Regions from separate parts of the Homo sapiens genome. Here region 2 is linked to region 1. The links are contacts of gene promoters, found by promoter capture Hi-C in human tissues and cell types (Jung and others, 2019). All regions are on one chromosome and are shown on one strand. Each heading gives the region's core, a stretch centred on a gene start or on the middle of the fragment in contact. The rest is flanking DNA. Distances are from core to core; before and after follow the strand shown. Region 1 holds the start of GPR158 (G protein-coupled receptor 158). Region 2 overlaps ENKUR (enkurin, TRPC channel interacting protein).

Region 1 (4,622 bases), core at 651-3,150:
TGACTCACTGCTGAGGGGCCGGAACTGCGAGGAGATGGCACAGTTTTAATTATAAGCTCTGACTAACAACAGACCGGTGCCCCCAACTGCACACGTAGGAAGCAGGCAGAGGCTACCCCAAAGTGGCAGAAACAAGGAACTCTCTGTTCCTCCTGCTCCCTTTTCGCCTCTCATCTGAGGCTTGCCACTCCGCGGACACACCCGGCGCTCGCCAAGTTGTCGCATCGCCCCCCGGTGGGGAACGCCCCTCCCTGCTCTCCGGACAATTGGAGGGAAGCACAGAGCAGCGGGGGTGTCTCCGTCCTGCCAAGGGCTGCCTGTCCCTCGCCCAGTGCGGGGAAACTGGTCCGAGAGAATGAATGGCTTTCGCCGAGCGCCGGAAGCTGACGGGCGTGGGGCGCTTCTTGCCCCCAAGCACCCGCGCCCGCGTGGGGTGTCCCTCAGCCCGGGTCTCTACTCTGAGGGTGAGAAGCGTTCGCGTCACAGCCAAGGGTTCCTTCCTCACACGTGCACCCACCCACAAGACCGGAAGGAAAGCTTCGCTTTTGCCTTCCCCCCTGCCCCCCGGCCCTCCCTACCTGAATTCCGGGACCAGGTTAGGCTGCAACCCGTAGATGGCAGAGGAAAGAGTAACCAGCCACCCGGGCTTGTAACTCCCGTTCTCGCACTCCAGATAAGGCGGAGACCACTTGAAGTGGCTCTTGTCCCCGCCGAGCCCGTCCTTGCGCCGCCAGCTGTGGCCCAGGCCCCGGGGCCCCTGATTGGGGCCGCGGCGGTGTAAGTGGGGCCTCCACTTGCGCCGGAGGCCGTGGAACCACTCGGTCTCCAGAGTGGCGTTGGCCAGGTGGGGTGCGGAGGAGGACAGGTCTTGGAGCAGGATGCGGCTCTCCTCGCGCGTGGCCTGGAGGAAGACCTGTGGGGCCGGTGCGGACAGCGAATCGGTGCTGAAGGTGATGGCCGCCCGGGAGATGCTGGGCTCGCCCTCCAGAAGGCTCCACACCAGCGCCTGGTACCAATCCAGGTCGTCCTGCAAGTTCTGCTCCCGCGACTTATTGCTCTGCAGCATCACGTTGAGGAAGTTGGTGGCGTGTGTCAGTGTGTCCAGCGCCCGGTGCAAGGAGGGGTGCGCGCTGGCCAGGGCTGGCCACTTCCCCGGCAGGCCCGCCAACTCGTAGCGGCCGGAGCAGTTGGCTCGCTTCAGCTGGTGGGAGTCCCCGGTGTAGAGGTAAGAGGCCACGTCCATGGGCACCTCCTCGGCGAGTTTCTGCGCCAAGATGGTGCCATCGGTGGAGCGGCTCCAGGGAGCCGAGGAGTCCGAGGCAGAGGCTCGACCCGGCTGCTGGGCGTGCGGCTTCCCCTTCGGGGTCCTCTCTCGAGGGGAATCCGGCCGTCCTTGGGGGTCGCGGCTGGCGCCAACAGCTCCCAATCCCAGCTGAGCAAGCAGGAGGCAGAGGAGTAAGGGGTAAGCCATGGCTCCCATCTGCCTCCCAGAGAGAAGAGGAGGGAACGGGAGGGGGGGGAATCACTTTTTAAATTTGGATCGTCAGTTTCTCAACAGTCAGACTTTTTCGAGGAGTCTTCCCCCTTCTCCAGATGGCACCCAGTCCAAAGGACTTGAAAATAAGAATGTTTCGAGATTGGCCCCGGGTGGCTAAGCTACCGTCGCAGAAATCAAGTCACCTGTGGCAGCGCTGGCCGTGCCCGCTGCGCGAGGGGCCGGCTGGGGATTACGCACCTCGCAGCCTGGAGCCGAGCGGGTTACATGGCCTCGCGCTCCCAGCGGCTGGAGTCAGCCCGAGTCCGTCTCTCGGCCCGGCTGCCGCCACCGCCGCTCTCATTGAGGCGCGTTCAGAAGCTGCTGCTGCTGCTGCCGCCGCGGCCGCCGAAGACGCTGCTCCATAGTCTCACCCGCCGCAGGTCGTTCCCGCCTCCCGGCACTGGCTCCTCCTCGACCGCTTCGCCCGGAGGCGCGGGGCGCGCGCCCAGACCCGCACCGCGAGCGCAGCCGCGACTCCCGAGGAGCGAAGACGTCCTTTAAGACGTTCGTCTGTCCGGAGTAGCGAAGGCCGGGCGGCTGGTTAATTGCAGCCTTTAGGTTTGGCCGCAAACCACACTCCACCCTCTCTCCCTGCTCCCTCCTCGGGGGAGGAAAGCCAGTTTAAAGAGGCAGCTTGGCCGCAACCAAACCCTTGTAGGGCGGCTGCAAGTCGTCTTGTTCCCTGTTTGGTCGGCTCCTCTGTCAATCAGCCGACTGCCATTTGTGGGGCCGGGGAGGGAGCTGTCCAGTGCTGAACCCGAGGCGGCCCGCGGGCGGCGGGGGCGCGGGAGGCAGCCTGCCGAGTCCTCGCACCCACTCGCGTTCCGGATGACTCGGAAACCTGCGTGGGTGGCGTAGGGTGGGCGGCAGAGGGGGGAGAAGCAGAGATTCGGTGGCTCAGAGCGAAGGAAACTTGGACGTACTGAGGGGGAGGGTGTTGGCGTCTTGCATGCTTAGTTAAATCAGCCTTTTGCCTGGAAAAGAGGGAGAAGGGAGTAGTTTTCATTTCTAGGTGAAATTAGACAGAAGGGACATAGGATGGAGACGTGTCCTCCTGAGCATCTGCTCATTTTAGGCAAATTATCAAATCATCTTTCTTGTTGTCAGTTAAAGAAATGATTAAAACATACTTGTCTAGGCTCATCTTAGCTGAGGGAGTAATGGAGAAATCTACCAGCTGTGCTTTAAGGAGAGAAAAAAAAGTCATATTTAAGGAATCTCTGCTTGGGGGCCAGAATGGAGGGGAACGTGTAAAAATGTATGCAAGTAAAGATGTGTAAGGGAGAGAGCAAGGGGGAGGACTCATGAGCTCTGGGAGAATGAGAAGGAGCCTGTGTTGAGTGAGAAGGGAAATCATCCTGACTGGGAGTTCCTGGAATTGAGAGATAAGAACTAAGACTTCTATTTAGCTAAAGGTTGGGATATCCCAGCAGAAGAAAGAAGAACTGAGCAAGTATGCCAAGTCCCCCAAATTATTGGTAAATTTCTTAACACAATCTAATTGATGTTTTGACGCTTATTAGAGAATTTAAGTGTCTTCTGACACTCCAAAAGTAGACTGGTACCAGAAAAGTAGTGTTTTGCACAGCTAGCTCCACTTTCCATATGCACCTCTATTTTCAAATTCCCCAAGAAAGACACAAATAGAAAATATCCAACTTACTTTAATTCCCAACTAACAAAAATGTCCCTCATGGCATTCTAAGCAGGCACTGCTTAGATTCACTGTACTATTTCATGTCATCCTTCCTATTGAGAAAATACTTAAGGACTGGAATGTAAGCTCCAAAAGAGCAAAAATCTTTGTCTGCATTGGTCACTGAGGTACCTTGAGCACCCAGAACACTACCTGGCACATAGTAGGCTCTGGCTAAATAGTTGCTAAATTAGTGAATGAATGGGAAGATCATGATGATGAAGCTAACTTAAAAATCAATCTCCTCACCCAAGAAGAGAAGTCTGCCTGACACACCAGTGATGAGGGTTTTTGGAAGAAGACACAGCAACCAGTTTTTCAAACCGCAGTGGTTGGTCTCCAAATGAGTTTTTATAGTTATGCAAAGAGTGGTTATTAGATTTATATTTACTTACAAGTAGATTTCATGTTCATTTCCGACTTTTTGTTTAAATTTTTCTTTGCAATGTATGCTCCTATGCTAAGTAAAGGTCATCCCGGTTTAGTGCTCTGCCACAGTATGGGTGGCAATAATAACAGAAAGAGTTTCTGCTTATTTAATGTATCAAAGTATAAACTATGGTATTCCATTTACTTAACCATCTAAAGTCCGAAGTATAATTTCCTCATTCATTGATCCTTTTAGAAAACCTATATAACTTATTAACAATTCTTTAAAATCCTCTAGTATCTAACTTAAAAGAAGACATAATTGTATTCGTAGATCCTTCTGTAAGTAATCAAATGAACTAAGCACAATCAAAAGACCTGGATTCTGGTTCTAGCTTTATTTTAAAGGAAGATATATGACCACTGGCAAGACATTTAAAATTTCTGTGTCTTGGGACACAAACTGTGTGTGGGCCTCGGGATTTCACATTGAGGTTGTACGGGGGAGGCACCTGAGCTAGTCTCCCAGGGCACCAATCCTTTCCCAAGTGCATATCTAATGAGAAAGATGCAGAATATGAGAGACTCTTGCAATTATAGTATTCCCTTCAATGGATCCCCTTCAACCTACATTGCCAAACAGCTGGGATGAGCTAGTTGGATCTAGAACAGCACTGCCCAATAGAAATACAATGTGAACCAGAAGTAGGATCCTTATAAATAATTTCAAATGTTCAAATAGCATATTAAGATAGTAAAAAGAAAAAGACTGAAATTAATTTTAATAGTAAATTTTATGTAACCCAATATATCCAAATTTTTATCATTTCAATAAGTAAACAATGTAAAAGTATTAATGATATATTTTACACTTTTTACACTAAGTCTTCAAAATCTGATTTGTATTTTACACTCACAGCACAAGGCACTTCACACTAGCCACATTTCAAGTGCTGACTAGCCACCCGTGGCCAGAGGCTACCCTAGAGTACAAGCTCTAGAAGACAGTCCATTGCGGTC
Region 2 (4,622 bases), core at 1,486-3,985, 170 kb after region 1:
TGTAATCCCAGCACTTTGGGAGGCCGAGGCAGGCGGGTCATGAGGTCAGGAGATCGAGAACATCCTGGCTAACATGGTGAAACCCCGTCTCTACTAAAAATACAAAAAATTACCCGGGTGTGGTGGCGGGCGCCTGTAGTCCCAGCTACTCTGGAGGCTGAGGCAGGAGAATGGTGTGAACCCGGGAGGCGGAGCTTGCAGTGAGCCGAGATGGCGCCTCTGCACTCCAGCCTGGGTGAAAGTGCGAGACTCCATCTCAATAAATAAACAAACAAACAAATAAATAAATAAATAAGAAACCTATACATAATATAACGTGGTAAAAGGCATTAGCACACCTCTCTGGCATTTCATATATACATAAAAATGTTGAGAGAAGAAAATATGACAACAATACTCCTTAAAATCAGTTGCCAGGGAAATGTATAAGTGAGCTTTTGTGAACGTTAGACTCATTTTTTAGATTATTCGGTTACAGAACAAGGTTTAATATCTTAAGCAATACTAACAATATATTGTATATGAGAATTCATTTTTACAGATCAGGGAAATATGTCAGTCTGTTATAATCACTGTCTAGACATGATGACTCAAATTTTTACAGAATAAGACTGTGTCTGCCAGGACACAGGTAAAATCAAGTAAAGGGTTAAACAGTTTCAATTTTTAAACGTTTTATCAGGATGGATATCCAATATTCATAACCACAAGAATACTATTAATAGCAATATGTTCAATGTATTAGAATTTAAAACGTGCCAGTTATTGATCTTTTTCACAAGAATCCTATGGGATAAGTAGTATTATCCCATTGTTACAGAAGAAAAATCTCAGGCCCAGAAGTTGAGGCAATGAGGAAAAACAAGGGCTGAGATCGAGACACAAATCTAATACCAAAGCTCGTAAGTTTAATTGGTTTGCACAGTTCTTTTAGCCTGAGACAGTAAAACAAACTGAGTCCTTTTTGCTTCAGTAACATCTATAATTGTTTAGTTTTTGATAATTTATTATATATCAGATACTATTTCGTGTTTATACACAACCTTGTTCTAATGCAGTGAGGTTTTTTTTGATGAGGCTATCAAAGCAAATGGGAAATTATGATAGAAAAGTAAGGTAGAGCTACAAATGAGGACCTACATGAAATGTATGCTTCACAATCATGCACGTTTGCTTAAAGTCTGAAACAAATTTGACTCTATTAGTTAAGCAGCCAGCCCATCAAGGAAGAAAGATCCTTCCCATGCTTCTTTAAAAATCAATTACACTCTAAGTCATATTGTCCAAAGACAAAAGCAAAGCAGTAGTCACAGAGGAGCACAAATGTTCTCGGTGTGCTGCCACAAATACACTTCCTCCAGGATTCACGGAGAGAGGAGACCATGTGTGTAATACAATAAAGATTTCAGCCGCACTTCTACATTAAATCTGCTGAGTTTCATAAGTCTACTGTTGCCCTCATTATAGACCAGTGTTCCAGTACGATAACATAACTAAACAAAAGCAGTTTTGGAGACAGCAATGTGTTGTGCTCTGGGTGTGCAGCTATCTGACTGCATAGTTTAATTCAAGGATAGATTTTCCTGCTATCTAGATCAGCACAGTCTAATAGAAATGTAATGAGAGTCATGTATGTAATTTAAATTTTTCTAATCACTTTTAAAAAGTAGAAATAACGAAAAATTTACTTTATGTAGTTTATTTAATGCAATTTATCTAAAATACTATGATTTCCGCATGTGGCACCAGCCACATTTCAAGTGCTCAATATCCACATGTGGCTATATTACACAGCACAGATGTAGATGAATACATTAACTACATACTCTTTTGATATTCCACATATTATTTCACTCAACAGCTTGTGAGAGGTACTGAGCAGCACTAAGATCATCATTATACTCAATGACATATGCCTGTGTTGTCAAGTAAGTGCAGATCAGAGCTATGACAGACAACCAGGCTGGGGGAAGAATTGGCATCCATTTTTGAAAATTTAGTTACTTGATATAGACATGAGCCTGAATTGAACACTCTCATTTCAAGTCTGTAGGTGGACTTAAGGGATATCTGTGTACGTGTAAAAATTCTCCTCAAGAAATAATTTGGATAGCTTTCTAACACAGCCTAGGCTCCAGAGTTCAGAGTTCCACACGATAGTGTAATGCTGCAGTAATACTGGGAAAAATTGAAAAAGAAAAGTTGTTAATCCTTGATGCCTATTTTGCCCATTAGAGGAAAAAAAAATCTCAATTAAGCACTTTCAAACTATCCCAGCTTTTTGAGTAATATCATTTCCTTGTGTGCCCTTTGAAATAAATGGTTTTTAAAATGTAAATTTACTGTCTTAATGATGGGACTTACTATATGGTGATTAGTAAGTCTAATCTTAACTGTATGGTAAAATATAGTTTTGGTATGTTTTCTGAAGATGACAATTTTAGTTTGAGAATAACTTATCTTTAGCCCATATCTCATAATTCTAATAATAAATAGAAAATAGAGCCAATTATCCATGACACTGCCTGACTTCAAACTATACTACAGGGCTGCAGTAACCAAAACAGCATGGTACTGGTACAAGAACAGACACAGAGATCAATAGAACAGAATAGAGAACCCAGAAATAAGACTGCCCACTTACAAGTATCTGATCCTTGACAAACCCGACAAACACAAGCAATGGGAAGGACTTCATATTCAATAAATGGTGCTGGGAGAACTGGCTAGCCATATGCAGAAGAATGAAACTGGACCCATTCCTCTCACCATATACAAAAATTAACTCAAGATGGATTAAAGACTTAAACGTAAAACCCAAAACTATAAAAATCCTGGAAGACAACCTAGGCAATACCATTCAGGACATAGGCACGGGCAAAGATTTAATGATGAAGATGCCAAAAGCAGTGGCAACAAAAGCAAAAATTGACATATGGGATCTAATTAAAGTAAAGAGCTTCTGCACAGGAAAAGAAACCATCAACAGAGTAAACAACCTACAGAATGGGAGAAAATTTTTGCAAACTATGCATCTGACAAAGGTCTAATATCCAGCATCTATAAGAAACTTAAACAAATTTACAAGAACAAAACAAATAATGCTATTAAAAAGTTGGCAAAGGAAATGAACAGACACTTCTCAAAAGAAGACATACATGTGACCAACAAGCATATGAAGAAAAGCTTAACATCACTGATCATTAGAGAAATGCAAATCAAAACTACAATGAGATACCATCTCACACCAATCAGAATGGCCATTATTCAAAAGATACTGGTGAGGTTGTGGAGAAAAAGGAACACTTACTCACTGCTGATGGGAGTGTAAATTAGTTCAACCATTGTGGAAGACAGTGTGGCAATTCCTCAAAGACCTAAAGATGGGAATACCATTCAACCCAGCAATCCCATAACTGGATATATACCCAAAGGAATAGAAATTGTTCTATTATAAAGACACATGCATGCCTAGGTTCATTGCAGCACTATTCACAGTAGCAAAGACATGGAATCAACCTAAATGCCCATCAGTGATAGACTGGATAAAGAAAAGGTGATACATATACACCATGGGATACTATTCAGCCATAAAACAAGAATGAGATCGTATTCTTTGCAGGGACATGGATGTGTACATGTAAAAATTATCCAATAAATAATTTGGATAACTTTCTAACACAGCCTAGTCTCCAGAGTTCAGAGTCCCACACAATAGTGCTGCAGTAATACTGGCTGGAGGCCATTATCCTTAGCAAACTAACACAGGAACATGAAACCAAAATACTGCTAAATTCTCACTTAAAGTGAGAGCTAAATGGTGATAACACATGAACACATGGAGGGGAACAACACACCCTGGGGCCTATCGGAGGCTGGGGGTGGAAGGAGGGAGAGGATCAGGAAAAACAAGTAATGAGTACTAGGTTTAATACCTGGGTGATGAAATAATCTGTACAACAAACCCCCGTAATGCATGTTTACCTATATAACAAATCTGCACATGTATCCCTGAACTTAAAAGAAAATAGAGCCAATTATCTAATAAAGTCACCACTAGATCTTTGTAATAAAACCACACCATTCAGAAAATGGAGTAAAATGCAGCTATTTAACAGAAAGAATAAGATTTATGTGTATTAAGATATCACACTATATTAAGTTTTAAAAATCTAGTTGCAATTCTTACAGAAATAGAAACACAGGCTTGGCGCAGTGGCTCACATCTGTTATCCCAGCACTTTGGAAGGCCAAGGCAGGTGGATCACTTGAGGCCAGGATTTCCAGACCAGCCTGGCCAACGTGGTAAAACCCTGTCTCTACTAAAAATACAAAAATTAGCCAGGCATGGCGGTGCATGCCTGTAGTCCCAGCTACTCAGGAGGCAGAGGCATGAGAATCATTTGAACCCAGGAGACAGAGGTTACAGTGAGCTAAGATCACACCACTGCACTCCAGCCTGGGCAACACCACTGCACTCCAGCCTGGGCAACAGAGCGGGCAAAAAATAAATGAATAAATAAATAAATTAATTAATTAATTAATTAATTAAAGAAACACTGAAATTGAATTTATTCTGGAAAATTTATTGGAGAGATGGAGGAGACATAGATTTTAATTTA

What was found. The method cuts DNA at HindIII sites, captures the fragments that hold promoters and counts their contacts. A contact is called where the count stands out against the background at its distance.
Region 2: a fragment that was not itself captured here is called in contact with the fragment with the promoter of GPR158 in region 1 in 1 of the 25 tissues and cell types used here (dorsolateral prefrontal cortex).

What each region holds. Positions count from the first base shown.
Region 1 is chr10:25,172,279-25,176,900 of GRCh38, reverse strand. GPR158 (G protein-coupled receptor 158) reads right to left here and starts at 1,900. Exons shown (of 11, transcript NM_020752.3): 1 at 579-1,900. The coding sequence starts at 1,480. It overlaps GPR158-AS1 (GPR158 antisense RNA 1), which reads left to right and starts at 625. Exons shown (of 2, transcript NR_027333.2): 1 at 625-1,225. The HindIII fragment of the contact is 11,687 bases long and covers 1-4,622 here.
Region 2 is chr10:25,003,089-25,007,710 of GRCh38, reverse strand. All of the region lies in intron 1 of ENKUR (enkurin, TRPC channel interacting protein), which reads left to right. It also overlaps a transcript of THNSL1 not described here. Among named protein-coding and RNA genes, the nearest start is that of ENKUR, 11 kb to the left of the region's middle. The HindIII fragment of the contact is 8,073 bases long and covers 1-4,622 here.